Linked DNA regions of Homo sapiens: region 2 is linked to region 1. Evidence: promoter capture Hi-C in human tissues and cell types (Jung and others, 2019). All regions are on one chromosome and are shown on one strand. Each heading gives the region's core, a stretch centred on a gene start or on the middle of the fragment in contact. The rest is flanking DNA. Distances are from core to core; before and after follow the strand shown. Region 1 holds the start of IFNA5 (interferon alpha 5). Region 2 holds the start of IFNA13 (interferon alpha 13).

Evidence for each region. The method cuts DNA at HindIII sites, captures the fragments that hold promoters and counts their contacts. A contact is called where the count stands out against the background at its distance.
Region 2: a contact is called between the fragment with the promoter of IFNA13 here and the fragment with the promoter of IFNA5 in region 1, in 1 of the 25 tissues and cell types used here (neural progenitor cells).

Annotation. Positions count from the first base shown.
Region 1 is chr9:21,301,364-21,309,219 of GRCh38, reverse strand. It overlaps IFNA5 (interferon alpha 5), which reads left to right and starts at 3,907. Exons shown (of 1, transcript NM_002169.3): 1 at 3,907-4,894. The coding sequence starts at 3,964. The coding sequence ends at 4,533. The region is part of intron 2 of LOC107987053 (a long non-coding RNA gene); the gene reads right to left. The HindIII fragment of the contact is 6,884 bases long and covers 1-6,587 here.
Region 2 is chr9:21,364,298-21,372,153 of GRCh38, reverse strand. IFNA13 (interferon alpha 13) reads left to right here and starts at 4,097. Exons shown (of 1, transcript NM_006900.4): 1 at 4,097-4,782. The coding sequence starts at 4,144. The coding sequence ends at 4,716. The HindIII fragment of the contact is 15,253 bases long and covers 1-7,856 here.

The DNA of each region.
Region 1 (7,856 bases), core at 2,658-5,157:
ATGACAATGACTGTTCTCATTTAATTGATAAATGTACATTTAGATTGGCACACCTGAAGTTTACTGTGCAAATTCTATTGCAAAAATTAAGGGTCTCAATTGATGTTGTGTTTTTAAGCCTAATATGCAATATGTAAATGAAAACAAAAAGTAGACATATAGAGAAATGTTCAGAAAATAAAAACTAGATGTCCCCTATTGAAAGCCATGCATAGAAATAATGTCTTCAGAGAACCTAGGTTCCAAAGTTCAACCAGACCCCAGCTCAGCCAGGCCTGCAGAACCCTCATTTCCCAATGGCCCTCCCAATGGCCATATTTCTTATTGATTTTCCATCCACAGATCCTGTCATTCTGCTTGTTGGTTACAAATCCCAGGCTGTCTGTGTCATATTCAGAGTTGAGCCCAGATTGATCTCTCTCCCCTATTGTGATAGTTTTGACATCTGTCGCAATAGTCCTAAATAAAGTCTTCATTACTGTAATACCAAGTGTTAGCATAATTTTTTCTCTACCAGTTTCTCAATGTAAGCCAGCACAATCATCACAGTAGCAAACTCTGCTGACCTACAACATAAAAGGCATCAGCCAGCTGGAAAGTCAGGTAACTCAGAACCTTTTGTCATTGCAGTCCTCCTCCTCTAATGCCCTGGACTCTCTACATTTCTCCAGAAGTGCTTCCCATTTGCACACCTCCAATCCTATTAGGCAGCCCTTCCAGAGGGTTTTTTTCCTGATCTCTGAGCCTTAGCTTATTGGTTTATTTCTGATTTAGATCATATTTATATCCCGATCATGGCTTAGTCTTACTTAGGTTTGCACTAAACTGGTAGAAATCTAAAGTATTATGGATATTTGAATAAATGAGTAGATATACATAGGGTTTCAAAGAGTTGCTTATGATGAACCAAGTATTTTACAAATACATTCAAGCTTATGGAAATACATTCTCAAGAAGAAAAAACTAGAATATAGTGTGTAAGTAAAATGGGGTCTAATTTAATTGTAATGTAACATGTTGGCAAAAGCAAATGGGACGTTTCAGTAAAAAAGAACAGCTGAAGAGAAAGACCCTGTCATTACTTAGGCAGGACTCTCCTGGGAAAACACTGACCAATGCAGAAATCAGTTCTTATGACCAGAAATATTCCCAAAGACCATGTAAGAGCTGAGGATTTAGAGTCCAATTTTGGGGTTTAAATAGTAGCCTCAAATTCAATACCTCACTGTTCTTCTGTTTTTTCTTTTGTAAATAGGAATAATAGTAGAACCTATCAGTCTTCTTTGGTCACTGATATCTCCAGTGAATAAATGGTGGGTAGGTATATGGTAGGGGTTCAGTTAATACAAAAAGAGGATATTCATTATTGGTAAAATGAGAATCAAATCTGTAAGTTCTAAGAACAATATCTGACTGAAAATAAACACCTTCATCAATTTACCTGTCTCCTTCCTTTTTTAAACATTATCTTCATTATTAAACTTTATTAAATTGGGGGAAGTGTCCTTTAAAATTGTTAACTCCCTTGATTCCTGTAAAAAACATAATAAGGGAAATATTGATCTCTTGAATGTATTTATACACTAAGGGAGAACTTGAGAATTAACACTTACTCATTATGCAAAGAGTACATGGTACTCTTTTAAAAATTGCCCTTTTTTTATGTACAAATTCTTGCGATTGGTGTGACTCCATGAAGGCTGGATTCAGCAAAGCTGAAAACACTGCGTGGACCAGGAATGATTACTCTTTTTTTTCAGCTCATACCCATTTGTTCCCTTTGATCTACATATCTTCTACGATTTTGCTTCTCCTCTTCCCCATTCCTTTATCTCCTTCTTTACTGGGATGAATGTAGGAAAGTTGCATTTTGTCATCCTTTTTTTCCCAGTGAGATATTGTCTCTCTAGAGGATATTGTCACTCTAGAGAAAAGGGTGTTACTGACTGTGATAACTGCCTTGTGAGTGAGATGGTGCTGGGGAAAATAAAACTAACAAATTAACTTAGGATTAGAATCTCCTAGCCCAAGTGACCAGAAAAGAATCAGGATTCTTTTATCACATTTAGATACACATTTGTTTTCTTTCTATCTCCATTCTGTAGGATTTTTAAAATCACATTTAGATATACATTTTTCTTTTTGTCTCCATTCTTAAGGATTCAAAAAGAGACAACCTTTACTTTCAATGAAAATGAAAATGAGAAAGAAAGATCTCTGGTATCCTGCATGCTATGTAAACAATTGTACAACCCATTCATGCTATCACATTTACATTACACTATGGACATTTAGGACAAAAATGGTTTTCTTCAGTTTGAGGAGAATCAACTAGAATTGGAACCTCTGTGGGTTCTTTGGAAATCTGACCTTTCATGACAAATAATATTTTTAAAATCAAATTGATGACATTTTTCTCCATTGCATATACTCATTAAGTATAATATTGCTTCCAAGAATGTAAAAGTTATTTCTTGGGGCCCTCTAAAGTTCAACTCTGTCTGACAAAACTTTATTCCTTAGTATTTTTTTAATTGAGTTCTTGTTGTTGTTGTTTGTTTGTTTGCTTGCTTTTTGAGGCGGAGTCTCGCTCTGTTGCCAGGCTGGAGTGCAGTGGGGTGGTCTCGGCTCACTGCAACCTCCGACTCCCTGGTTCAAGCAATTCTCCTGCCTCAGCCTCCCGAGTAGCTGGGATTACAGGCACGTGCCACCACGCCCAGCTAATTTTTGTATTTTTAGTAGAGACGGGCTTTCACCATGTTGTCCAGGAGGGTCTTGATCTCCTGACCTTGTAATCCACCCACCTCAGCCTCCCAAAGTGCTGGGATTACAGATGTGAGCCACCGCGCCTGGCCTAATTTGGTTTTCTTGTAACATCAGAAGCATTGACCTTGAGTTCATGGAAGATACACAAAAGGTATACAAGATCAGTGCTACAAGCATATGGCAAATGGGTGGCTGTTATTGGAGGACTTTCCAAGATTTATTAGATGTCAAAGTCATATCATGTGAGGTGGCCTCTGTATACATATGAGCTGTCATTTGCTGTCTTGTGTATGTTGCTTATATTTGATCCTGAGCATTTATGACTGTGTTTTGAGTTTTGAGGTTTCAATAAAAATACTTTATCTTTTACTATTTAATTCTACTAAAGTTGTTCAACACATCAATAATTATGTCAAGCACTGAAGAGAAAAAGGTTTTTGACAATATCTAGATCAATATCTAGAAGCTAGTGAATTTTTTAAATTTCCCTATGAAGCAAAATTGAAAGTACCCTAAAAATAAATGTTACAAATAATTTCAATTTTAATAGTCTTTAGCTATTTTGAATTTTTAAATATTTCATTATACTAGGCAATATTATATATTTTCATAATTTGTTAATTTACTTATTTAATCTGACACACTACAATTTATATAAGTAAATAAATCACATTGTTACTTAAACAAATTGAACTATGAAGTTAAATATCCATAAATTGTAAATTTAATTATTAACTTTTACCTTAGAATTTTCATTTGCTCATTCTTAATCCGGGACTGAATAAATTCTATTTTACATTCTATTACGCTGCTTTTAAAGCATTAAAGAAGTACAATATTCTCTCTCGATAATGGGTACTGTAATGTATATACATCAGCCAACACATAGTATATCTGTGTTATTAAAATTTAATGGGATTTTTAGTTAGAAAAAAAATTTCTAAAAAGCATATGTGGCAGAGGAAGATGAGGTAATAATGTAAAAATAAATAAACTGAGAAACACTCCTGTACATCTATGTAGAAAGAGCATAAAAGAAAGCAAAAAGAGAAGTAGAAAGTAACACAAGGCATTCAGAAAATGGAAACTCGTATGTGACCTTTTTAAGATCTGTGCACAAAACAAGGTCTTCAGAGAAGAGCCCAAGGTTCAGGGTCACTCAATCTCAACAGCCCAGAAGCATCTGCAACCTCCCCAATGGCCTTGCCCTTTGTTTTACTGATGGCCCTGGTGGTGCTCAACTGCAAGTCAATCTGTTCTCTGGGCTGTGATCTGCCTCAGACCCACAGCCTGAGTAACAGGAGGACTTTGATGATAATGGCACAAATGGGAAGAATCTCTCCTTTCTCCTGCCTGAAGGACAGACATGACTTTGGATTTCCTCAGGAGGAGTTTGATGGCAACCAGTTCCAGAAGGCTCAAGCCATCTCTGTCCTCCATGAGATGATCCAGCAGACCTTCAATCTCTTCAGCACAAAGGACTCATCTGCTACTTGGGATGAGACACTTCTAGACAAATTCTACACTGAACTTTACCAGCAGCTGAATGACCTGGAAGCCTGTATGATGCAGGAGGTTGGAGTGGAAGACACTCCTCTGATGAATGTGGACTCTATCCTGACTGTGAGAAAATACTTTCAAAGAATCACCCTCTATCTGACAGAGAAGAAATACAGCCCTTGTGCATGGGAGGTTGTCAGAGCAGAAATCATGAGATCCTTCTCTTTATCAGCAAACTTGCAAGAAAGATTAAGGAGGAAGGAATGAAAACTGGTTCAACATCGAAATGATTCTCATTGACTAGTACACCATTTCACACTTCTTGAGTTCTGCCGTTTCAAATATTAATTTCTGCTATATCCATGACTTGAGTTGAATCAAAATTTTCAAACGTTTCACACGTGTTAAGCAACACTTCTTTAGCTCCACAGGGACAAAATCTTTACAGATGATCATGCCAATCTATCTATTCTATCTATTTATCTATCTGTCTGTCTTCTATCTAATCTATTTAAATATTTATTTATTTATAAGATTTAAATTATTTTAAATTATGTTTGTTCAGGTAATATTACATCCACCTTTACTTTGTGGCTAATATAATAAAATATGTTCTTTATGTTTTGTCAACTGATTATTTTGCTTTGTTCATTAGATTTTTACTATTAATTGTTTGTTTATTCTTTAAAATGAAACTCCAAGCCTGATTGTATAACTTGATTAAAAACAGATGGTACAGTTCAGTTACCTATCATTATTTTATTCAAATTTTAAGTAAAGGAAGATTTTTCTTAAGTGAACATAATAAATACAATTCCTGTTCCCTTGTATCTTTGATTTTTGCCAGAAATTTAACAACAATAATTATGATTAATATGAGTTATGTTAAATGCTATAATGTGAGCTAGGAAAAAAAACAGTGAATTGCTCTCAGCAGAACGCAGATAGAGGCACGTCCAGAAAGAAAAATAAAAGCAGAGCTAGCCTCTCTAAACTGACTTTTAAACATGTAATTGCGAATGTGCATTGCTAGTCAGATACATGAGTTTGCAATATCCAAGGAATACAATGTCTGGAGGATCATAACTGGCAACCAAATGCCTAAAAATGGAGGCTGTCATGTGAGGAGCCAATGTAGAGAAGAAAATAAGACTTAAACTAGATTCTGAGGACCTTCCACCATTAAAGAGAGGGAAGAGGAGAGACACAAAGGAAACAGAGGTGGAATACCTTAAACATTAGAAGGACAAGAGGGAATGATGATAAAAATGTATTTAGAAAATAAATGTACTTAGAAGAAGAATCAATAGACTTATGGGAAATGTGGATTAAAACTGCCCAGAACATCAGAAAAATAGATGGCGGTGGAGATCTTGGTGAGAGCTGGATTGGCAGAATTAATCAGTACAAACCATACTGGAGTAGGTGGAAGAGTGAATCAGAGAAGAGAAATCAGTGATAACCATATGTAGGAAATAATTGTGACATGTTTGCCATGGAAATGGAGGGGGGAAATAAGGTTGGACTTGAAAAAGAATGTGTACTATTTTTTATCTACATAGTTTTTCTTTTTTGAAAATAGAGTTCGTGGATTCAATCTATTGGCAAGTCATGTTAATATGTTTAATATTTTATGTATTTAAATCATAATATTATTTGCATAATAATTTATTATTATTTTGATTAATACTATGTTACATGTCAGGAAAAAATGACAAACTTCCCTCATGAAATAAAATGGGAAACTGGATGAGAGAATCTCTTTATACTTTTGGCCAAAACCAGCTGAAAATACGTGAACCAAAGAGAAATTCAGAGTGCGGCAGAGAGTTGCATATAACTCAGTAGTAAGAGGAGATGTAATAATTATTACAGAAATCCTGAATACAAAGCTTATACCTCAGGTGTAAATAAAAATAAAGAATTTTACATTGAAATTACATTCTGCTTACATGTAAGCGTGATGTTCAGAAAACCACTTAATCTCTCTGAGCCTCAGTTTTCTTTTGAAAATATACTTTCTACATTAAAAAAGCAATACATATCACTGTTATTTTCTTTTAAACTTTTATTTTAGGTTCAGGGGTAGATGTGTAGGTTTGCTATATAGATAAATTACATGTCACAGACATTTGGAGTATGAATTATTTCATCACCTAGGTTATAAGCATAGTACACAATAGGTAGTTTATCAATTCTCATTCTCATCCCACCCTCCACCTTCAAGTAGGCCCCTGTGTCTGTTGCTCCTTTTTTTGTGTCCATATATACTTAATATTTGGCTCCCACTTATAAGTGAGAACATCCAGTATTTGATTTTCTGTTCCTGAATTAGTTTGCTTAGGATAATGGCCTCCACCTCCATCCAAGTTCCCATAGAAGACAAGATCTTGTTCTTTTTTGACTGCATAGTATTCCATGGTATATATGTACTGCATTTAGGATTTGGCTCTCAGCTTGACTGTTGTTGGTGTATGGGAATGCTAGTAATTTTTGTGCATTGATTTTGTATCCTGAAACTTTGCTGAAGTTGTGTATCAGCTCGAGGAGCTTTTGGGCAGAGAATATGGGGTTTTCTATATAGAGAATTATACCATCTGTGAACAAGGATAATTTGACTTCTCTTCCTATTTGGATGTCCTTTATTTCTTTCTCTTGCCTGATTACTCCAGCCAGGACTTCCAGTACTATGTTGAATAGTACTGGTGAGAGAGGACATTCTTGTCTTGTGCCAGTTTTCAAGGGGAAAGCTTCCAGGTTTGCCTATTCAATATGATGTTGATTGTGGGTTTGTCATAGATGGCTCTTATTATATTGAGGTATATTCTTTCAATACTTAGTTTATTGAGAATTTTTAATGTGAAGAGGTGTTGAATTTTATCAAAAGCCTTTTCTGCATCTATTGAGATAATAATATATTTTTCTCTTTAGTTCTGTTTATTTGATGAATCACATTTATTGATTTGTGTATTTTGAAACAACCTTGCATCCCAGAGATAAAGCCTATTTAATTGTGGTGGGTTAGCTTTTTGATGTGCTGTATTTCATTTGCTAGTATCTTTTTTAAGGATTTTTACATCAGTGTTCATCAAGGATATTGACCTGAAGTTTTCCTTTTCTTGTTGTATCTCTGGCCAGTTTTGGTGTCAGGATGATGGTGACCACATAGAATAAGTTAGGAAGGAGTGCTTCCTCCTCAATTTGTTGGAATCGTTTCAGTAGAAATATTACCAGGTCTTTTTTGTACATCTGGTAGAATGTATCTGTGAATTCATCTGGTCTTGCCTTTTTCTGATTTGTAGGCTTTGTATTACCAATTCAACTTTAGAACTCATTTTTGATCTCTTCAGAGATTCAGTCTCTTCCTGGTTCAGTCTTGGGAGGGTTTATGTTTCCAGAAATTTATCCATTTCTTTTAGGTTTTCTAGTTTGTGTGCATGGAAGTGTTTGTAATAGTCTCTGAGGGTTTGGTATATATATTTAAGATAATTAGGTCTTCTTGTTGAATTGAGCCCTTTATCATTATGTAATGCCCTTCCTTGTCTTTTTTGATCTTTGTTAATTTTAAGTGTGTTTTCTCTGAAATTAGA
Region 2 (7,856 bases), core at 2,848-5,347, 63 kb before region 1:
AACTTTAGTCAGTCTCCTCCAAACTCTCTCGTTGACTGGCTCGTGCCTTTGGGTCCATTCTTAGGTCTGCCAAGTCCAGTTGTAGCAGGAATCTTACTAAGTTAGTTTTATGAGAATGCTTCCACGCTTGATAGCTGATTTACCCTTGATATATGATCAAATTGTTCATCCCACACACTCAATATGTAATTACCCTGGCTTGCCTTTAGAAAGAATTATGTTCAGCTTAGGAAGGATCCCCCTGCCTTTGATGTCTCCTTTTACTGATTTTCTATCTGACCCCTCATTCTGCTTGTTGGGTATAAACCCCAGGCTCTCTTTGCTGATTTTTGAGCTGAGCACCAATTGGTCTCTCTCCCCTATTGATATGGTTTGGGTCAGCATCCCCTTCCAAATCTCACATGGAATTGTAATCTCCAGTGTTGGAGGCGGGGCCTGGTGGGAGGTGATTGGATCATAGGGCGGTTCCTCACGGTTTAACACCATCCCCCTGGTGGTGTCATGGTAAGAGTGAGTTATTCCAAGATCTGGTTGTTTAAAATTGTGCAGCACCTCCCCTGCTTCTCTCCTCCTGCTCCAGTCATGCAGGACATGCCTGCTTCCCCTTAGCCTTCTGCCATGATTGTAAGTGTCCTGAGGCCTCCGTAGCCATGCTTCCTGTATGGTCTGCAGAATCATGAGCCAATTAAACCTCTTTTCTTTCTAAGTTACCCAGTCTCAGGTTTTTCTGTATAGTAGTGCAAGAACTAATACACCTATTGTGATAGTTTTGACGCCTGTTGCAATACTTCTGAATAAGTCTTCTTTACTGTTATACCAAGTGTCAGCATAAATTTTTCTTTACCAGATCCTTAAATTAAGGCAGTACAATCAACACTGCAGCACACTCTGGTGACCTGCAACATAAAAAGCATCAACCAGCTGGCAAGTCAGGTGACTCAGGGTCTTTTGTCATCTCAGTCCTCATTCTCTAATGCCATGGACTATCCTAATTTCTCTAGAAGTGTTTCCATTTCCACACCTTTAATAATCCCTTTAGTCAACCTTTCCAGGTGTGCTCTCCCTGAGCTCTGAGCCTTAGTTCCTTGGTTTAGTTCTGATTTAGTTCATGTCTCTAGCCTGACAGTGACTCGTTCTTTCTTAAATTTGTGCTACACATGGGGAAATCTAAAGTATTGTGGATATTTGATTAAAAGAATAGTACTATGTAGAATTTTAAATTGACAGAAATATAAAGGGTTGATGAATATATTCACTGGGGTGAACAATATGTTTTACAAATATGTTCATGCTTATGATGGTGTATCCTCAAGAAGACAAAACTAGAATATAATGTGAAAGTAAAGTGGGGCCCAATTTAATTGTAATGTAACATGTTGGCATGGACAAATGGGGCATTTCAATGAAGAAGACAAATGGAAACTGAAGAGAAAGACCCTGTCATTACATAGTAAGGACTCTACTAGGAAAACATTGATTGTCCTAGAAATCAGCTCTGGTTCTTTTGTCCAGAAATAGTCCCAGAGAGCATGTAAGAAGTAAGACTTCAGAGCTGAATTTTCTCCATCCAAACTGTGGCTCCACAACTTAATAGCTCCCTGGGATTTCATTTTTTTTCTTTTGCATATGGGGATAATAGTAAAATCTATCACTGTGTGCTTTGGTCAGTGATATATCTAGTGAATAAATGGGGCTAGGTACATGGTAGACGTTCAGTAAATATGAAAAATGGATATTCTTTATTGATTAAGTAAGCATTGATTATGCAAGTGCTAAAAACAGTGTCTGACTGAAAATAAATAAAGACTTTCCACAATTTAGATATTTCATTCCTTCTTTTTTTAAGACGGAATTTCAATCTTGTTGCCTGGGCTGGGGTGCAAGTGGAGTGCAAAGGCATGATCTCAGCTCACTGCAACCTCCACCTCCTGGGTTTAAGCAATTCTTCTGCTTCAGCTGGGATTACAGGCATGTGCCACCACACCAGACTAATTTTGTATTTTTAGTAGAGACGGTGTTTCAAAATGTTAGTCAGGCTAGTCTCAAACTCCTGACCTCAGGTGATCTGCCCAGCTCGGCCTCCCAAAGTGCTGGGATTACAGGCGTAAGCCACCGCACCCGGCCTGATATTTCATTTCTCTTATTAACATTATCTTTATTATATAACTCTATTAAAAGTTAGGGAAGTGTCCTCTGAAATTATCAATTCTCTTGTTTCTTACTAGAAATATAAGAAGAAAAAAACTGACCTTCTAAGTTTACTTATCCAATAGTGGAGAGCTTGGTGCAATGAACACTGACCCATTTTCCAGAGAGAATATTGTACTCTCAAAAATTTCTCTTTCTTGTGTATAAACTCTTGCAGTTGGTATATTTGCAAGATGGGGTTCGGTAAATCTGAAAACACACTGTGGACCAGGAGTAATTACTTTTCTTCCAGCCCATACTTACGTGTTACCTTGACCTACATCCCTTCTACTATTTTGCTTCTGTTCTTTCCCACCCCTTAACCTCCACTATGTTGGTCAGGCTGGTCTCAAACTCCCAACCTCAGATGATCCGTCTGCCTCGGCCTCTCAAAGTGCTGGCATTACACATGTGAGCCACGACGCCCGGCCACTTGTGTTATCTTTTTGTTCCCATTAGTTAGGATGCAAAAAGTGACAACTTTTGCTTTCTATGAAAATGAAATGAGAAAGAAAGATATCTGGTGTCTGGCATGCTATGTAAAACAATTGTCTACTTATTTATGTTATTATATTTACATCCTATTATGCGCATCTAGGACAAAGATAGTTTCCTTTAGTTTGCTAGGAATCAGCAAAGAACCTCTGAAGGCACCTTGGAAATTTGAACTTTCATGCAAAAAATTTTTAATCAAATCGAGGATGTTTTTTCAATTGTGTATTCTCATTGCATATGATACTACTCCCAAGGATGTAGAAGTTAGTTCTTGGGAGTGGGAACAAATCTTACATATTTAAATGGTTTGTGGCCCTTCAAAGCTCAACCTATTTAACAAAATCTTATTCCTTAGTTTTTTTTTTTTTCTCTCCATTGGGTTTTCTTGTGTATCACATGAGAAGCACTGACATTGAGTTCATGGAAGATACACAAAAGGTATAAAAGTTCAGCATTACAAACCTATGGCAAATGGGTAGCTGTGATTGGAGTACTTTCCAAGATGTATTAGATCTCAAAGTCATATCATGAGAGGTGTCCTCTGCATACATATGGTTTGTCACTGGCCATCTTATAGATATTGCTTATGTTTGATCCTTAGCATTTCTGTCTGTGTTGTGGGCTTTGAAATGAAATATAAATAATTTATATTTTAACAATTCTACTGAAGTTGTTCAACACATCTATATTTAGGTCAAGAATTGAAGAAAAAATTCTTCACACTCTCTAGGTGAGTATCTAGCAGCTAGTGAAGTTAAAAATTTTCTCACATGCAACAAAATTAAAAGTTAAGTATAATAAAAATAAATGATAAAAATATTTTAAATTATTAAGTCTTTATCAGTTTCAAATAATTCATAAACATTCATTACTTAGCTGTATAATGTTTATCTAGAAACATTAGATAATGTTTATAATTTGTTAAATTTCTTATGTAATTTAATACATTACAATTTATATCAGTAAATAAACTATATTGAAGCCCACAAGCAAATTTAGTTATAAAGTTAAGTTAAATTTGAATAGCGTTTAAATTTAACTTTTATCTTAAAATTTTCATTTGGTTATTTTTAAACTTGCATTGAATAAAATGATTAAACTTTGTACTTTTTGAGTATAGAGATATACATATAGTACACAAATAGATAGATATTATATCTGTGTTATTAAATTTTCACGGTGGGTTCAATTAGGAAAAAAAATCTAAAAAGTCTCTGGGAACAAGATGGGGGAGACAATAATGAAAAACAAAATGGTTGAGAAACACGGCTCTAAACTCATGTAAAGAGTTCAAGAAGGAAAGCAAAAACAGAAATGGAAAGTGGTCCAGAAGCATTAAGAAAGTGGAAATCAGTATGTTCCCTATTTAAGGCATCTGCAGGAAGCAAAGCCTTCAGAGAACCTAGAGCCCAAGGTTCAGAGTCACCCATCTCAGCAAGCCCAGAAGCATCTGCAATATCTATGATGGCCTCGCCCTTTGCTTTACTGATGGCCCTGGTGGTGCTCAGCTGCAAGTCAAGCTGCTCTCTGGGCTGTGATCTCCCTGAGACCCACAGCCTGGATAACAGGAGGACCTTGATGCTCCTGGCACAAATGAGCAGAATCTCTCCTTCCTCCTGTCTGATGGACAGACATGACTTTGGATTTCCCCAGGAGGAGTTTGATGGCAACCAGTTCCAGAAGGCTCCAGCCATCTCTGTCCTCCATGAGCTGATCCAGCAGATCTTCAACCTCTTTACCACAAAAGATTCATCTGCTGCTTGGGATGAGGACCTCCTAGACAAATTCTGCACCGAACTCTACCAGCAGCTGAATGACTTGGAAGCCTGTGTGATGCAGGAGGAGAGGGTGGGAGAAACTCCCCTGATGAATGCGGACTCCATCTTGGCTGTGAAGAAATACTTCCGAAGAATCACTCTCTATCTGACAGAGAAGAAATACAGCCCTTGTGCCTGGGAGGTTGTCAGAGCAGAAATCATGAGATCCCTCTCTTTATCAACAAACTTGCAAGAAAGATTAAGGAGGAAGGAATAACACCTGGTCCAACATGAAACAATTCTTATTGACTCATATACCAGGTCACGCTTTCATGAATTCTGCCATTTCAAAGACTCTCACTTCTGCTATAACTATGACCATGCTGATAAACTGATTTATCTATTTAAATATTTATTTAGCTATTCATAAGATTTAAATTATTTTTGTTCATATAACATCATGTGCATCTTTACACTGTGGTTAGTGTAATAAAACATGTTCCTTATATCTACTCAATTCATTATTTTATGTTGTTCATTAAACTTTTACTATAGGAACTTCCTGTATGTGTTCATTCTTTAATACAAAATTCCTAGCCTGACTGTGCAACCTGATGAGAGAATAAAGGGTATAATTTATTTACTCATCATTATTATATGAGAGATGTAAGTAAAAATGACCTTTCTCTAAACCAGGTTGTATGTTGTACTCAAGTTATAAAGGTGAATACAATAAATCTACTTCCTACTCTCTTGCATGTTTGATTTTTGTATGGAATAAAACTAAAAATAGTAATCATACTTAGTATCAGTTATCCTGAATACTATAAGGAGAAAAAGGAATGAACAATGATTTCTTTCGGCAGGAGGTAAACTGAAACATGTGAGGAAATAAAAATAAACAGATATCCTCTATAAGTTGACTGATACAACATGTGGTAGAAACTGTCTATTGCCAGTTGGATATGTGAGTTTGCAAATTATAAGGAATGCAATTGCTGGGAGTTCATATGTGGCAAGCAAAATCCCAGAAATGAAAGTGCTCATGTGTGGAGAGAGTGTAGACAGAGAAAAGGACTTAAACGTGATTCTAAGGACCTTCCACCTTTAAAGGGAAGGAAGAGAAGAGCCACAAAGGAAACAGAGGGATGGACAAATAGAGACAATGGTGATTAATATGGTCTGGAACTGTGTCTCTGCCTAAATCTCAGGCAGACCAGCCTCTAGAATGTATGTGTGTGTGTGTGTGTGTGTGTATGTGTGTGTGTGTGTATATATATACGTACATATATATATATACGTATATATATGTATATATATACACACACACACACATACACACACACACTATATATATATTTTATATATAGTGTATATATATAAAACATATGTATATATGCTTATTTTCTTATTTTATAAATATATGGTTATTATTTTCTTAATTAGTGCATATATATCAGAAAAGGGACTGGGTGCAGTGGCTCATGTTTGTAATCTCAGCACTTTGGAAGCCAAGGTGGGTGGATCACTTGAGTTCAGGGGTTCAAGACCAGCCTGGACAATATGGTGAAACCCTGTCTCTACTAAAAACCAAAAATTTGGCCAGGCATGGTGTTGGGTAGCTGTGATCCCATCTATTCGGGAGGCTGAGGCAGGAGAATCACTTGAACCCCGGAGGCAGAGATGGCGCCTCTGCACTACAGCCCCTGGGCAATAGAACAATACTCCGTCCCCAAAAAAAAAAAAAAAAAAAAAGAAAAGAAAAGAAAAAAAAGAAAATGAGAAAACAGAAAAGGGAATGTTCTCTTCTCTCCTCAATCTCCATAACACATAAGAATCTAAAACGCAGAATTCTTGGAGTATTCTGGAGAAAACTGAAAAATAGTCACCCTTCGTACTGAAGATAAGTCTGATGTGTATATTCAGTCAGGATACGGTATCTTACAGGAAAATCTGGAAGAGTTTATTTTCTTAAACCTAAGTGAAATATACATACCATTCATTTGCTGATTCCGATACCCAGCACAGTTCTTTCCTTCTTCCCCAGCTTTTCTGGATCTCATTTTCACTCCTATTGAGGCTCAAAAATAATACCCCAAAGTGAAGTTCTCAGAAGCAGCTTCAGAAGCAAAGTTTCTCTCTGGCCTTCTCCTGCCCTGCTGTTTGTCACGCCTCATCTCCTGAGGGAGACCCTTTTCCCCAAAGCCAGCCATAAAATCTGAAAATATGACTCTAACTTTCCCTCACCTTTGTGTGTAAGAACTGAACTGGCCATAAAGAAATTCTCTCACCTGCCTTGTTTGATTGTAGATACTAAGACCCCCATTCCAAAAAGAGCTCTGCCACATACCCAAGAGGAAGGAATGGTGTATGGAGGGGCCAAGAAGTATCTGACCAGAAAGGCCTTGTTGGGTTTCCCCTACTCAGAATATTAGCATTAGATGATGCCCTTTTTGTCTAATCACATTTCTACACAGCTGGCCATTCTTCATGGAACATAAGCATAAAAATGGATAGTTTTTTCCTGTACTTTGGGTCTTCATTTTGAAGGCTTCCGTAGTTATATAAACCTGTGATTAAATAAATGTGTTATGCTTCTCTCTTGTTAAGCTGTCTTTTGTTTTAGGCGTGTGAGCTGTGACCCTTTTGATAGGAAGGAAAGAGATCACACTATTTCTACCCCTATAGTTGTGGTGATGAAGATGGGATGCCTGAAGCACCTGACTCACCTACTGATGAGGTCCAGGTAAAATGCTGATAAAGAGCTTGCCAGTAAAGGTAAGAATTTTTACCAAGTTCAGTTCTGAATTTCTGCTTGTAGTGTCTGGTCAAGAACTAAAGGTAAAAATTTATCTTTATTTCTTCCTTTCCAAATGCAGGTCATCAGGAGAAGATCATTTGTTTGAATTGTTCTCTTGTGTAAATTTGGATTTATGGGACCCATGTGTTATTGATCCTTTCCCTTCAATAGACAGCTGTCGTTTTGCTGTTTTGTGTCCTGAGAACCTGACTTGGCTTGCTGCCTATCAGGATGCCCTTCGGTGTGTGCAGGAGGCCAAACCAAAAGTTGGAGGCGCCCATTAAAAGTTTACATATTGACTATTGCCAGCTCTCGAGGTGTCTAAATATTTCTTTCTTGCGGCGATCTTTAGAGGTGGCTCTGAATTTTGAGAGGACTGCATCTTGGCATTTCTTTGAAGATGTCTTATGCATCCTTGGTGAAGTCAAAAAAGGCTTGGTTTTGGTACTGAGTCACTTGGTAGGTGTCTTTGTTTTAAAAGAAAAGAGAAAAAAGAAAGTTTCAAACATTAGAAATATGGGTTGTTTGTTCTTGCCGAAATCCGGTAAGGGGTTTTAAAGTAATTTTAAGAGCTCTGTATTCAATTATTAGCTTAATTTAAAGTGGGTATCAAGGCT